2 separate regions of the Homo sapiens genome follow, and region 1 is linked to region 2. The links are contacts of gene promoters, found by promoter capture Hi-C in blood cells and fetal thymus (Javierre and others, 2016). All regions are on one chromosome and are shown on one strand. The core of a region is centred on a gene start or on the middle of the fragment in contact, and the rest is flanking DNA. Distances in the headings are between cores, read along the strand shown. Region 1 has its middle 14 kb from the start of APLN. Region 2 holds the start of UTP14A (UTP14A small subunit processome component).

Evidence for each region. The method cuts DNA at HindIII sites, captures the fragments that hold promoters and counts their contacts. A CHiCAGO score of 5 or more calls a contact.
Region 1: a fragment that was not itself captured here is called in contact with the fragment with the promoter of UTP14A in region 2 in 14 of 17 cell types (activated CD4 T cells, non-activated CD4 T cells, total B cells and 11 more); the score reaches 22.8 in activated CD4 T cells.

What each region holds. Positions count from the first base shown.
Region 1 is chrX:129,637,473-129,644,051 of GRCh38, reverse strand. No RefSeq gene overlaps it. Among named protein-coding and RNA genes, the nearest start is that of APLN, 14 kb to the left of the region's middle. RefSeq lists a silencer at 6,281-6,450. The HindIII fragment of the contact is 481 bases long and covers 2,642-3,122 here.
Region 2 is chrX:129,902,661-129,909,151 of GRCh38, reverse strand. It overlaps UTP14A (UTP14A small subunit processome component), which reads right to left and starts at 2,988. Exons shown (of 15, transcript NM_006649.4): 1 at 2,916-2,988; 2 at 1,710-1,785; 3 at 1,022-1,092; 4 at 418-482. The coding sequence starts at 2,941. It overlaps LOC105373335 (a long non-coding RNA gene), which reads left to right. Exons shown (of 3, transcript NR_188631.1): 3 at 599-1,888. The HindIII fragment of the contact is 20,573 bases long and covers 2,556-6,491 here.

The DNA.
Region 1 (6,579 bases), core at 1,633-4,132, 260 kb after region 2:
TGCACCCATCACCATGCCTGGGTAATTTTTTGTATTTTTATTTATTTATTTATTTTTATTATTATTATTATTTTTAGTAGAGACAGGGTTTCACCAGGTTAGCCAGGCTAGTCTTGAGCTCCTGACCCGAAGTAATCCGCCTGCCTTGGCTTCCCAAAGTGCTGGGATTACAAGCATGAGCCACCATGCCCAGCTATGTTTGTTATTCTTAGTAAGTACAATACAAACTCATAGTACAAGAGGGCACAGTGTGGACTGGTGGGATCAGGGAAAGCTAATAGAGGCTGAGTGATAAAAACAGGCCCTAGAAGGCACAATAGCATTTGGTTAAGTTGGTGAAAGGATGATGGGCAGAGACGGCGGGGACAAGGAAGGGGGAGCAGCCACCAGGGTCTATGGAACCTACGTAGTCAACTGGATACTATTGGGTGGATCCAAGTGTGACCTCCTTGGGGCAGGGGATAAGGAAAAGAAAGTTGGTGGCTTCTGTAAAGATAATTAGACCTCAAACCAAAAGAAGGCTGAACATATGATATGCGTTGCTACTACCCTTTGGAGATATCTAGACCAAATAAATACAACAGAAGCAGAGTAGGGCATTGCTTTTCAAAATGCAGAGCTTAGGAAAAGAAATAGGAGTTCACTTAACTGATTGTTTCTGGACCGGAGGTCCTGAACTGAGAGGTTGACGAGTGGGGGCAGAGAATCTGAAAACCAACACTCTTTCAAATCCATCCGGAATTAGGCAGCCTCTGAAATGACAGAGATTAGGGAGGCAAACAGACTCAGACCACACACAGCTTTTCAGGACCCCAGGTGTGGTGTAAAATGAGCCATAACTGCTTAGAAATCTAACATTTCAGACTCTTCTGTAGGCCTAGCTGGCTTGGTACCCCCTGTAGGGGCTGGGCTCCTCCGTATTGAGGGAACCATGAGGCCTGGCCTGAGCAGCCATTCTGAAGTCCTTATAGAATTCGATTCTCCAAGCCTAAAGGTTACTCAACTGAAATTTCTCAATCCAAAGTTTCTTTCTGACCAGAGTGTGCCTGTGCCAGCTAACTGCCAAAGGAGATGGCAGAGATTTACTCAGTATCTTCCTCTCCTGGCTTGAGAAGGGCCGCTGACTCAGCCAGCATTTCTTGGTAACTCTTGAAAGGAAGGCTTCTTCTCTAGGACTCCTTTGAAAATCCAGCTTTTCCTATGCAGTGGCCAGTGCTCAGAGAAGGAGCCCAGCAAGGGACTCCCCTTGCCGCTGTCTTGGACTTCAGCCAAAGGCCCAAGCCGCATCCAGGACACTTCCTTGAATGTTTCAAATCAGCCGCCAACAGACTTTTTCTGTAAAGAGCCAGATAGTTTTCTTGACTTTTTGAGCCATATGGTCTCTATCTCAACTCAAACCTCTTTGAGTTTGATGCTGCTGCCTACTTTTTAGCACTGTGATCAGGATTGACTGTGATGATGCAGGTAAAGTTTTTGGCACATGCAAAAGCAGCCATACACAATACATACACCAGTGGACATGACTGTGTTCCAAAAAAATCTTTATAAAAGCAGGTGGCTTCCCAGCCCTGTCTCAAATGAAGCATCAGCAAGCCCTTCAACTCAGCCCCTGAACCCTTGCCTGGAGTCCAAGGGGAAGACTTACATTCTGCAGCAAGGTGTAGAATTAAGTGATTTAATACACTGGTTATGAGATGGCCTCTGATAATAATCATACTAACAAAGTGATTCCAGTGGAAGGGGAAGTCTGGAGTCAGATCAGGGTTCAAATCCTGGCACTACCATTTACTCACCTGTGTGACCTTGCAGCAAGGGTCTTGATCTGGATGAGCCCATGTTTCTGCTTTAGGCAGGATGCTGCTGCCCAATTTATAGCACTGTGGTCAGGATTGACCGCGATGATGCAGGGAAAGTGTTTGGCACAGTGCCCGGCCCATGTTACAAGCCTACCAAGTGGGAGCTATTATTATCTCTGTTAAGCCTCATTCTAGCCCTGAGAACTGGACAGGGCAGCCATCATTACCCCAATTTATAGATGAAAAATCAGGCTCATGGAGGTGAGGTCACTTGTTCAAATTCATAGAGCCACTCATGGGTGAGTAGAGCTTCAAACCTGGGTCTGTCCCCGGCTCAGGTCAGCTGCTGCTATGGTTTGAATGCATCCTTCAACTTCATGTTTTGGAAATTTAATCCCTAAATTCATATGTTGATGGTATTTGGAGGTGGTGCCTTTGGTAGGTAATTAAAATTAAATAAGGTCATCAGGGTTGTGCCCCTATGATGGAACTGGTGGCTTTATAAGAAGAGGAAGAGAGACCTGAGCTGGCACACTCTTGCCCTCTTGCCATGTGATGCCATTCTACCACGTCATGATTTAGCAAAAAGTCCCTCACCAGACGCCAGTGCCATGCCCTTGGACTTCCCAGCCTCCAGAGCTGTGAGCTAAATAAACTATTTTTTTTATAAGTTACCCAGTCTGTGGCTACAGAAAACAAACTATGATAGCTTCCCTGCTTCTGCTAAGGGTCCTCTTTCCCACCATGAGTGTGCCTCAGTCACTAGAAATTTCCGGTCTCCCAGATAACCTTTAGGGCCTCCCCAGGGACAGATTACGTCCTCGGCATTTTTCCTTGTAGAAGCTTAGCTTGGGCAGCAGCCCAGGAGGCCTCTCCAAAGGTGTTAAGTGCTCACCATTAGCACCTGATCTGTCTGGAATTGTGGAGCCAGGCACCTGTTCCAGCACACCTGCTTGGCCATTGGGGTTCCTTTCTGCACAAGGCCAGGGGCTCAGAAACGTGGGTTCCAGTCCTGAATCTGCTTCTACCCAGGGCTTGCTGGGTAGCTTAGCAAAGTCTTTCCTTGGCCCTTTCTGGGTCTCAGCCTCCTCACCTGCCCAGGACACCTGGGTGGGTAGATGTGAAGCACCTGCTTGTGACTAGGGATTTGTTGGGGTCCCAGCTAACAGTGGGGGGTGATTCAGGCTGCCCTCCAGAGGCAATTCAGGACCTGACCCAGGGACCTGTAGGGAGGAGCTCTGGGAGAAGAATTAGGCATATGGCAGGAAAATGGGAACCTAAGCCAGTGAGGAAGTCCACTGCTGGGTTACGTGGGTTGCACAAGCTTCCCATAACCCCAGGGCCTGCTGGAACCTCCATTCCATACTTCTCCCTTTGCACAAATTAAATGCTTTCTGATCTTCCCTGAATGTTAAAAAATTGGCACACTGCTGCAGAGCTAGCCTGGTGGTGTGAAACTTGGGGTTCTGAGCTCTGGATCCTAACCCCAGCTTGGTCAGTAACTGGCTGTGTGACTCCAGGCAGGTCTGTTCATCTATCAGGGGTCCTGGTTCTCCCTCATCTATTTTCATAGGATGACAATCTCTGCTTTCCCTACCTTAAACACACAGAATCATAGAAGGGCAGAGCTGACATGAGCCTGAGAGATCATTCAGTACCCTAAGCCCTGTTATTTTTACAAATGAAGAAAGTGGGACTCAGAAAGGATAAGTGAACGCTTAAGGAACATAGCTAGATAGTCCTAGCAAACTCATGTAGAGCGCTTCTCATGTGCCAAGCACTGTTTGAGGAACTTCACCTGTCCTGACTTAGTCAGTCCCCATCACAATCCCATTTTATAGCTGAGGAAACTGAGTCACTGAGAAGGTAAGCCATTAGTCTAAAGATCTTCTGTGGTATGTGCAAACGAACTGAGAGAAACAAGGTGGCATTGCTTTAAAGGAAGGCAAAGGCACTGCTGAAATGCCAAGCATTCCCTCCAGGGCTGCAGTCACCTCTCGTCTGTAGGGGAGGGGCTTCGCTTTGGCACCCTCAGTCCCAGGGCAACAGAACTGCTTGTGATTTGGGGGCTGTGAGAGGCCTGTTGGAAAGAGGGTGCCTCTTTTTCCATCTAGGCAGAGACATCTCTGGCTCCCTCCCCAGCAGGTGTAGGGATAGAGGCTGGTGACTTTGGCATACGTTATGGGGGGTTTCATCCCCCATGTCTCTAGGCTCCTGAGCTTTCTGGAAGCCTGGAGTTCCTCTCTCCTTTGGAAATTCCCAACTCCTCAGATGTGAGGGATATGGAAAGATAAGAGAGGATAAACAAAGCAGGGAGGAAAAAGGTCCCAGTGAGGAGTGCAGGGGGATGGAGGAGGGAATCTCACCACACAGCCCCTTCCACCTCCAGCACTGCAGAGACCTTCTGATCTGATTATCCTCTTTCATCCTTCCCTCTACTCTGGGCTACCCTCTAGCTCAGCTCCACAGCCTGCCCCACCCCCATTCCCACTCCCAAATTGCCTGTCAAGTTTTAGGTCCCATGCCTTGTGTAAGTTTCAAAAGGAGCTCCCCTTCTCTCAATCTATGCCCAAACTTTTAGAACCCAAGCCTATAAAGAGCTCTTTGGCCTACCCCTACCCCAAAACAATCAGCTAAAAAATGCCTACCCTTGGCCAGGCGTGGTGGCTCATGCCTGTAATCCCAGCAGTTTGGGAGGCCGAAGTGGGTGGATCATCTGAGGTCAGGAGTTCGAGACTATCCTGGCCAACATGGCAAAAACCCGTCTCTACAAAATACAAAAATTAGCTGCGTGTGGTGGTGGGCACCTGTAGTCCCAGCTACTCAGGAGGCTGAGGCGGGAGAATCCGTTGAACCTGGGAGGCGGAGGTTGCACCACTACACTCCAGCCTGGACGACAGAGCAAGACTCCATCTCAAACAAACAAGCAAAACAAACAACAGCAAAAGAAAAAAAAAAAACGCCTACTCTGTGCAGGACACCATGCAAGGGACAGTGGAGGAGGAACAGTGGAGAAAGACTTGGTCCTCACCTTTCCTCTGGGAGGCACCAGCGAAAGGTGTGTGGTGAGGGTGTGACATCCCTCATTAGCTGTTGTAGCCACAGCGCCCTCTGTACCACTCCCCCGCAACCCCAGGGATGTTCTCCTGGCCCTGAGCCTGCGCACCGGCCTCAGCAGGACCTGCGAGGGAGGGAGCTTCATACCCATCTTTTAGGAAGCAGAAGCAGGGAAAGCCTCAGCCTAAGTCACCCAAAACCCATTTCCAGTGCTCTTCTAGTTTCCCCAGACTTCCCTTCCCAGGTTCTCCACCTTCCTCCAATTCTCCGGGTCCTCCAACTGCCAGCCAAGGCTCCCCTCCCCCATGAATCCTCCCTGGATGCTCTCCTAGCCCCGATGGTCACCTGCAGGTGAGGCCAGAATTGGAACCCAGACTTCTGCCCGCCACCTTCAAAAGCCTTTGTGCTCGCCAACTGTACACCTCCTCACCAGACTAGGCATGGCCATAGCCACAATGGAGGTGACGATGCTGACAGTGATAATGAGGGAATGTAATGATCATACCTTCCAGCATGGGATGCGGAGACTTAAACATCCTGACTCCTCCAAGTTCCAAGCCTGGGTCAGTCACTTCACCTTTCTAGGCCTCAGCTTTACCTTTTCTAAAATGGAAGTAAGAATCCCTGGCTCCCTCTCGGGCTTCTAGTGACTGAAGTTTCTGAAGTTAAAATGTTTGGTACAGTAGAGAGTGCTGTGTGTGTAACGGGGAAAAAACCCCATCGTTCTCAGCGGGTACCATGAAGACCACCCTGTTTGCATGTGAAAGTGCTTTTTGATCTGTAAAAGAGCTATGGGAATTCATTTCTCAGCATTCGCTGAATGTTTATTGAGGGCCTACTTTGTACCACATTCCTTAATACCTGGAGAGGGAAACAGATGTTATTCAAAAATCACAACCGAATGTCTAACCAGGAACTGTGGCAAGGGCCCTGGAGGCGAAAAACAGGCCTCTAGGAAGTTTATCACTGAGTGCACGATCTGGGGTCAGAGAAAGCTTCCTGGAGGTGAAGTGGGAGCTGACACCTCAGGAGTGAGTAGGGGTTAAGCTGGAGAAAGGAGGTCTCAGCAGAGGGAGCACAGGGCTTGTGTCCAAAGCACCAAGGTGGGAGGAAGCAGATGTGATTTATTGTTAAACCCATTTCACAGACAACGAAGCAGGCCCTGAGAGAGGCTGTGACTTGCAGAATGAGAGATTCCACTGAACTCCTGTGTGCTGGCTGATTCCCTCTGTGGCTCTAGGCTGGGCAAGCAGGATGTACTATGGTCACTAAGACATCCTCTTCTGATAACTTGCCCCAGACTCTATCAATTCACCAGCTGAATATGAGGGGCTGAGAATTCCTCACCCACAGGAGTGGCTGGCTACATGCATCTGGGTCAGCTTGATGGCCGGACACTCTGGAAACTTCTTATATGTTTCCCTTTCTTTGCAGTCGGCCTCTCTTTCTTCTCCAAGCCTGCTTATTCTTTGGGGGAAACCCAGTGTGTCATGAGAGGCTGCCCCCTGCTGGCTGAGTCCTGGAACTGCAGGGACTTCTTCAGGCTTGCGTCAAGTCTAGGCACAGGCCATTTTAAGAAAGTTCCCGAGGTCATCTCCTCTTTCCTGTTCTGCAGGAGGTGTGAGAACGAGCAAACGCCAAAGTGTGTGTAGAGGAGTGGCTGACTGGCGTTCATCAAAGACGACTTTTTTAATGGGGGCAGCTCTAAAATTGCTTCTGCTCCAAG
Region 2 (6,491 bases), core at 1,739-4,238:
GTACTAGGCAAAGGCCCTTGAATAAGTAATGTGACCTCTCTGAGCTCTGGCTGAAGAGAATATTTGCCTGTCTCCTAACTCAAAGCATTGTTAAGAGAACTGAAATAAAAATGAAATTGTACAAATATGAATTATGACTAAGTTACTAAGAGGCAGCTGTCTTTATTCATGTCCATCTATCCTATAAGTATCTCATCAAACTCTGTAGGATACCTTGACCACAGCCTTCTAGGCTTTCTTTGAGAGATGGAAGAAACTGAAGGGCATCTGACTACACTTCTTCACCCACTCTCCCAGGTATTTATGGTATGAGTCATTAACCACATCAAAAACAGTTCCTAGGGGGGGTGAGGTGAACACAATGCCCTTGGAACTCCACAGGTTTCATGCATGGGTATCTTCCTTTGTTCAACTTACCTTCAGAACTGACATTGAACTCTGACACCTTCAGACTAGCCTCAGACCTCTCAGCCAATTTCCGCCTGAAATTAGGCAAAACGATATAATAGGAATGAATAAATTTTATGGGGGCTTGGGGTTGGGAGAGACAAACACTTCTCTCTTCAAACAGGGCTTTGGTTTCTTGTATTTCTTCTAGGGTCATGTTTTGTCATGATGCAGCAAGGAGATCTGTTCCTAACTTGGACTTGGTTGTCTAACCCTCATCTCTTCTCTTTATTACAAGGTAAGCATAGTGGAAAACATATTGGACTTAGATTCAAACACACCTGAACCTGTAACTTATGAGCCAGGTGACCTTGGGGGTAAGTAAATTTATTTCTCTAATGGGGTTAAATAATGCCTACTCAATGCTTTAAAAGATTTTCAGTGTGGAATAAGACTGCAAATGCTTACAATAATAGCACTAAGACTAATAACAGCTAACAGTTAATTATATAATGCTTACTATATGCTAGGCACTGGTATTAAGGTCTTTACATGAAGCACTCAATAAATATTAGCTGCAGAGAAATCTCACGGAATTGACTATATAACCTGCCCTAACTGACGGGAACGTTACCTATTCTTTCCATCAAGGGAACTGATTGCTTCCAGAAGCTTTTGATGCTTTCTCTCTCCATCATTGTCCCCCTAAGACACAGAAAAGGAAAAACAATCAGGATGAGGGGGAGGGAAAAGACAACATGGAAATTGAGTCTCATGTAAAATCTCTTGTTATTTATTTATTTATTTTTGAGACGGCGTCTCGCTCTGTTGCCCAGGATGGAGTGCAGTGGTGTTATCTTGGCTCACTGCAAGCTCCGCCTCCCAGGTTCATGCCATTCTCCTGCCTCAGCCTCCCAAGTAGCTGGGACTACAGGCGCCTGCCACCACGCCTGGCTAATTTTTTGTATTTTTAGTAGAGACGGGGTTTCACTGTGTTAGCCAGGATGGTCTCAATCTCCTGACCTTGTGATCTGCCCGCCTTGGCCTCCCAAAGTGCTGGGATTACAGGCATGAGCCATCACCCGGGCCTGTTTTGGTTGGTCTTATAAATTATACTTATGCAACTTGAGGGTAGTGATTGTAACTTAGTTTCCAAATCCTCATAGCACTTAATATGATACAGTATCTTATATATGAAACACTAACCATTTGCAATTTATTTGAGAGACCTGAACAAATACATAGAACATTGTCACACCCTTCCATTCCAGGAATGTGCTCTCTACCCTAATTTTGAAGGCAGTTTAGCAATTGTCACCCACCTCATCTTCACTCTCACTCAAGAGGTAGTCTTTTGGCAAATCCGCTAGTTCTTCCTGTTGGCTCAAAGCCAGAAGGCTGTTAAAAGAGGCAACAGAGAAATGTGAATGCAATATACCCATGTAACAAACCTGCATATGTATCCCTTAATTATAATAAAAGTCGAAATTAAAAAAAGAAATATTATTATTTGAAGCAATGTCTAATCTATTAAAACAATCTCGAAAACATTGTAATTTCAGCACAGAATAGCCCTATCCCTCAGAAGATATATAAAGCAGCGTGAATGCCTTTGGAAACTTGTCAAGATGTGAAATTTAGACTGAAGTCAGGCATCACCTCCAAGAGTGATGCCTGACTTCAAAACTGCATGTAAAAGAGCTATCACTTTTCAGGGATTGGCACAACATTTCCTATGACCTATGGGAAGCTGTAAAAATGTCAGACCCTAGAATAATATGGCCAAAGACGCTGTTGCTAGCTAGCCCTGGAGGCAAGGCAGTTTCACGATTAATATTTCTAAGCATCCTCCATATATTTGACTCATTGATAGGCAGCCTAATCAAAAGTGTTATCTTGATCCTTGTTCCCAGGAATGGAGAAACAGGTCGAAAGCAGCTGGGTAAGCCACTTTCCCTGGGGCTTGCTTAGTAAAGTAGGTGCTTAACTAAGGAGATTGGTACCCACAAACAAATTATAAAATGTACCATTACCTAACAGCATATATTATTAGTATTTGCAAAGCCAACATTACTAAACGGACTACATTTAGTTCCGGGGGCGGGGTGGGGGGGGCACAAAACATCACAGGAGCCAAAACGTGGTGGATGACTCCAATCAGCAAAGCTTTCCAAGATTCGGGGAGTTTATAACGCCTGCACTGCCTGCGCAGAGGATTAAATCGGGCCGCGACAGAGGCAGAAAAAGGGGCCACGTGACGAAAAATGTGAAACACAGTAAATGAGCTGGGGAGGCAGAAACAGCATCAGGACCAACAGGGATGCGGCTATACAGCTGAGGAGCGGAGTAAGCGAATGAAATTAAATTAAAAGGGCTTTAAAGGCTGGATCGCGGAAAATAGGAACGAATGGCCAGCTCTTCAGGGGAACCACTGCCATCTGTTAAAGGGGGGGCTCCCATTTCCCAAAAGCTGGGGAACCCGGCCCCCAACGAGACCCAGAATCCCCCCTCCCCTCGTTGCCCTTCACCTCTCTGCAAGCCGGTTCGCAGTCATTTCAGCAGCCAGCTTCTCTCACATGGACCAAGAACGGAAGCCGAAGGAAAGCAATTTCCGTGCGGGCCGCAAAGCAATTTCTGTTTCCGTCAATCGCTCGCGACGTACACGTCACTTCCGTTCCGTACGAGGCGTGAGAGAAGCAGGAGCCGTGTAGGGAGGGGCCTGCAGAAAACTGGGAGGCCTGAGATGAAACGGCTGTCAGCGGGTGGGGCATTCCTTTCTCCACCCACCCCGTATTTCTCTGGCGCGCGGGTGTCTGTCCTCCTGGCCCCTGGTTTCCACGTGGCCCAAGGTGGGTTAGCTTAGGGCGACGGTGCTGCGCTCTCAGGGGCTGAGCCCGCGCCTTCATTCGTCACTGCAGAATCCAGAAGGAAAGACTACAGCGCCCGTCCTTGTGCGACGGCGTCCTGCAAGCCGACCACAAGCCAGCTCGGGGGTTTATTGAATGCCTATTAAGTGGCCAGATTGTGCCGGGCCCCGGAGATCCGATGGTGAACATAACAAGTTTCCTTCCATTTAAGGAAAAATCGCCTTTGATCCCTTGTAATTGCAGCTTTGTTCTTCATTTCCTGAGTCAAAAGATTTTTTTTATCCAAGAAGGGGCCATCAGTAACTACGCTTCCTCACCTCCCATCAACTTAAAAAAATTTTTTTAAACAACTTTTTTTCTCCCATCAACTTTTAAGAATTTTATTTATTTATTTTTGAGACAGAGCCTTGCTGTGTCGTTCAGGCTGGAGTGCAATGGCGTGATCTCAGCTCACTGCAACCTCCACCTCCCGGGTTCAAGCGATTCTCCTGCCTCAGCCTCCCGAGTCGCTAGGATTACAGGCACCCGCCACCATGCTCGGCTAATATTTGCATTTTTAGTAGAGACGGGGTTTTGCCACGTTGGCCAGGCTGGTCTAGAATTCCTGGCCTCAAGTGATCTGCCCGCCTCGGCCTCCCAAAGTGCTGAGATTACAGGTGTGAGCCACCGGGCCCGGCCTAATATATATATATATTAATTAATGATTGTAGAAAAATAATAGACAAGAACATTCTTTTCATTTTTTTTTTTTGAGACGGAGTCTCACTCCGTCGCCCACGCTGGAATGCAGTGGTGCGATCTCAGCTCACTGCAAGCTCCGCCTCCCGGGTTCACACCATTCACCTGCCTCAGCTTCCTGAGTAGCTGGGACTACAGGCGCCTGCCACCACACCCGGCTAATTTTTTTTTTTTTTTTAAGTAGAGACGGGGTTTCACCGTGTTAGCCAGGATGGTCTCGATCTCGTGACCTCATGATCCACCCGTCTCGGCCTCCCAAAGTGCTAGGATTACAGGCGTGAGCCACGGCGCCCGGCCCGTTCTTTTCATTCTTGTAATCCATTCCCATTTTGCTTTTGCCCCATTATTCCACAGAAATTGCTCTGGACAAGATCAGCGACACCCAAAGTTGCTAAATAAAACGGATACCTCTCAGTCTTTGGCTTCCCAGAACTTTGTGTGGCATTTAGTAACTGTTGATTTCTTTTCTTTTCTTTTCTTTTCTTTTCTTTTCTTTTTTTTGAGACGGAGTTTCGCTCTTGTTGCCAAGGCTGGAGTGCAGTGGCGCGATCTTGGCTCACTGTAACCTCCGCCTCCTGGGTTCAAGTGATTCTCCTGCCTCAGCCTCCCGTGTAGCTGGGATTACAGGCATGCGCCACCACGCCTGGCTAATTTTTGTTTTTTTTTTTTTTTTGAGACGGAGTCTCGCTCTGTCACCCAGGCTGGAGTGCAGTGGCACAATCTCAGCTCACTGCAACCTCTGCCTCCCTGTTTCAAGTGATTCTCCTGCCTCAGCCTCCCGAGTAGCTGGACTACAGGCACATGCCACCATGCCCGGCTAATTTTTTGTATTTTTAGTAGAGATGGGGTTTCACCGTGTTAGCCAGGATGGTCTCGATCTCCTGACCTCGTGATCCGCCCTCCTCGGCCTCCCAAAGTGCTGGGATTACAGGCGTGAGCCACCGCGCCCAGCCTAATTTTTGTATTTTTAGCAGAGATGGAGTTTCGCCATGTTGGCCAGGCTGGTCTCGAACTCCTGGCCTCAGGTGATCCTCCCACCATGGCCTCCCAAAGTGCTGGGATTATGGGCGTGAGCCACCGCACCCAGCCGATTTGTTTTCTTATTCATGAAATATTTTTGGCCATCTAGTATGTGCCAAGCCTCTAGGCATTGGGAATACATTGGTGAACAAAGCAGATATGTCCCATTGCTTCCTAGAGCTTACTTTCTAGTGGGATTAAAGACAATTTTGTCATTGTTGAAACTCCATCCTGAGATTTCATGACACCATTCTCTCCTGGTATCAGCCCTATGACCATCTTCCTCAGTCTTCTCTGCTGGATGCTTTTAATATACTTTTAATATGCTTACTCCCTAAATGATGATGTTTCCGAGAATTCTGCTCTAAGCCCTCTTTATTTATTACAGATACTCTTCCTAAGTGAAATTGCCTTTAACAGCTGTATGAGAACAAAATTTATATCTCTAGCCCTAATCTCTTTCTTGAGCTCCAGACTGGTATATCTGATTGCCTCCTGGCTATTCTTTTTGCCCCACAAGCACATCAAACATAAAATGACCAATAATTTCTATCTTTTCCACCAGAGTTCCTTTCCTGAATTTCCCATTTGTATGATTGGCCCATCAACTACCCAGTTAGTAAAATCAGAAGTCTGAGAGTCATCTTAGATTCCCCTCCCCCTTATGCTCCACAGCTGTTTGCCCACATTATCAGTTTTACTTCCCTGAGTCTCTTTCAAATATCTCCTTACCTTTCTCCATCATGTTTGCCATTGTATTAGTTCAGACCTTTGCAATTTGAAGCCTGTGGTATTGCAGTAATCTTATAGAAAGGGGGAGCATTATAGCATTTTCATACTCATGAAATATGAAGAATGAACGAATAAATACATTTCATGATGAAGAACCTGAGTTTTAAAGCTGGACTCTGGGATTGAATCTTAGCTCTGTCACTTACTAGTTTTATAATTTTTTGGGGGGGTTGGGGGAGACGGAGTCTCGCTCTGTCACCCAGGCTGGAGTGCAGTGGCGTGATCTTGGCCCACTGCAACCTCCACCTCCCGGGTTCAAGCAATTCTCCTGCCTCAGCTTCCCAAGTAGCTGGGACTACAGGCATACGCCACCACACCCAGCTAATTTTTTGTATCTTAATAGAGACGGGGTTTCACCATGTTGCCCAGGCTGGTCTCGAACTCCTGAACTCAGGCAATCCACCCGCTTCGGCCTCCCAAACTGCTAGGATTATAGGCGTGAGCCACTGTGCCCGACCTAGTTTATAATTTTTGAGTAAGTCCCTTAACTCTCTGTGCCTTTGTTTCCTCTTATTTATTTATTTAGAGACGGAGTCTTGCTCTGTCACCCACGCAGGAGTGCAGTGGCTCGATCTCGGCTCACTGCAATCTCTGCCTCCCGGGTTCAAGCAGTTCTTCTGCCTCAGCCTCCTGAGGGGCTGGGATTACAGGCATGCGCCACCGCGCCTGGCTAATTGTTGTTGTTGT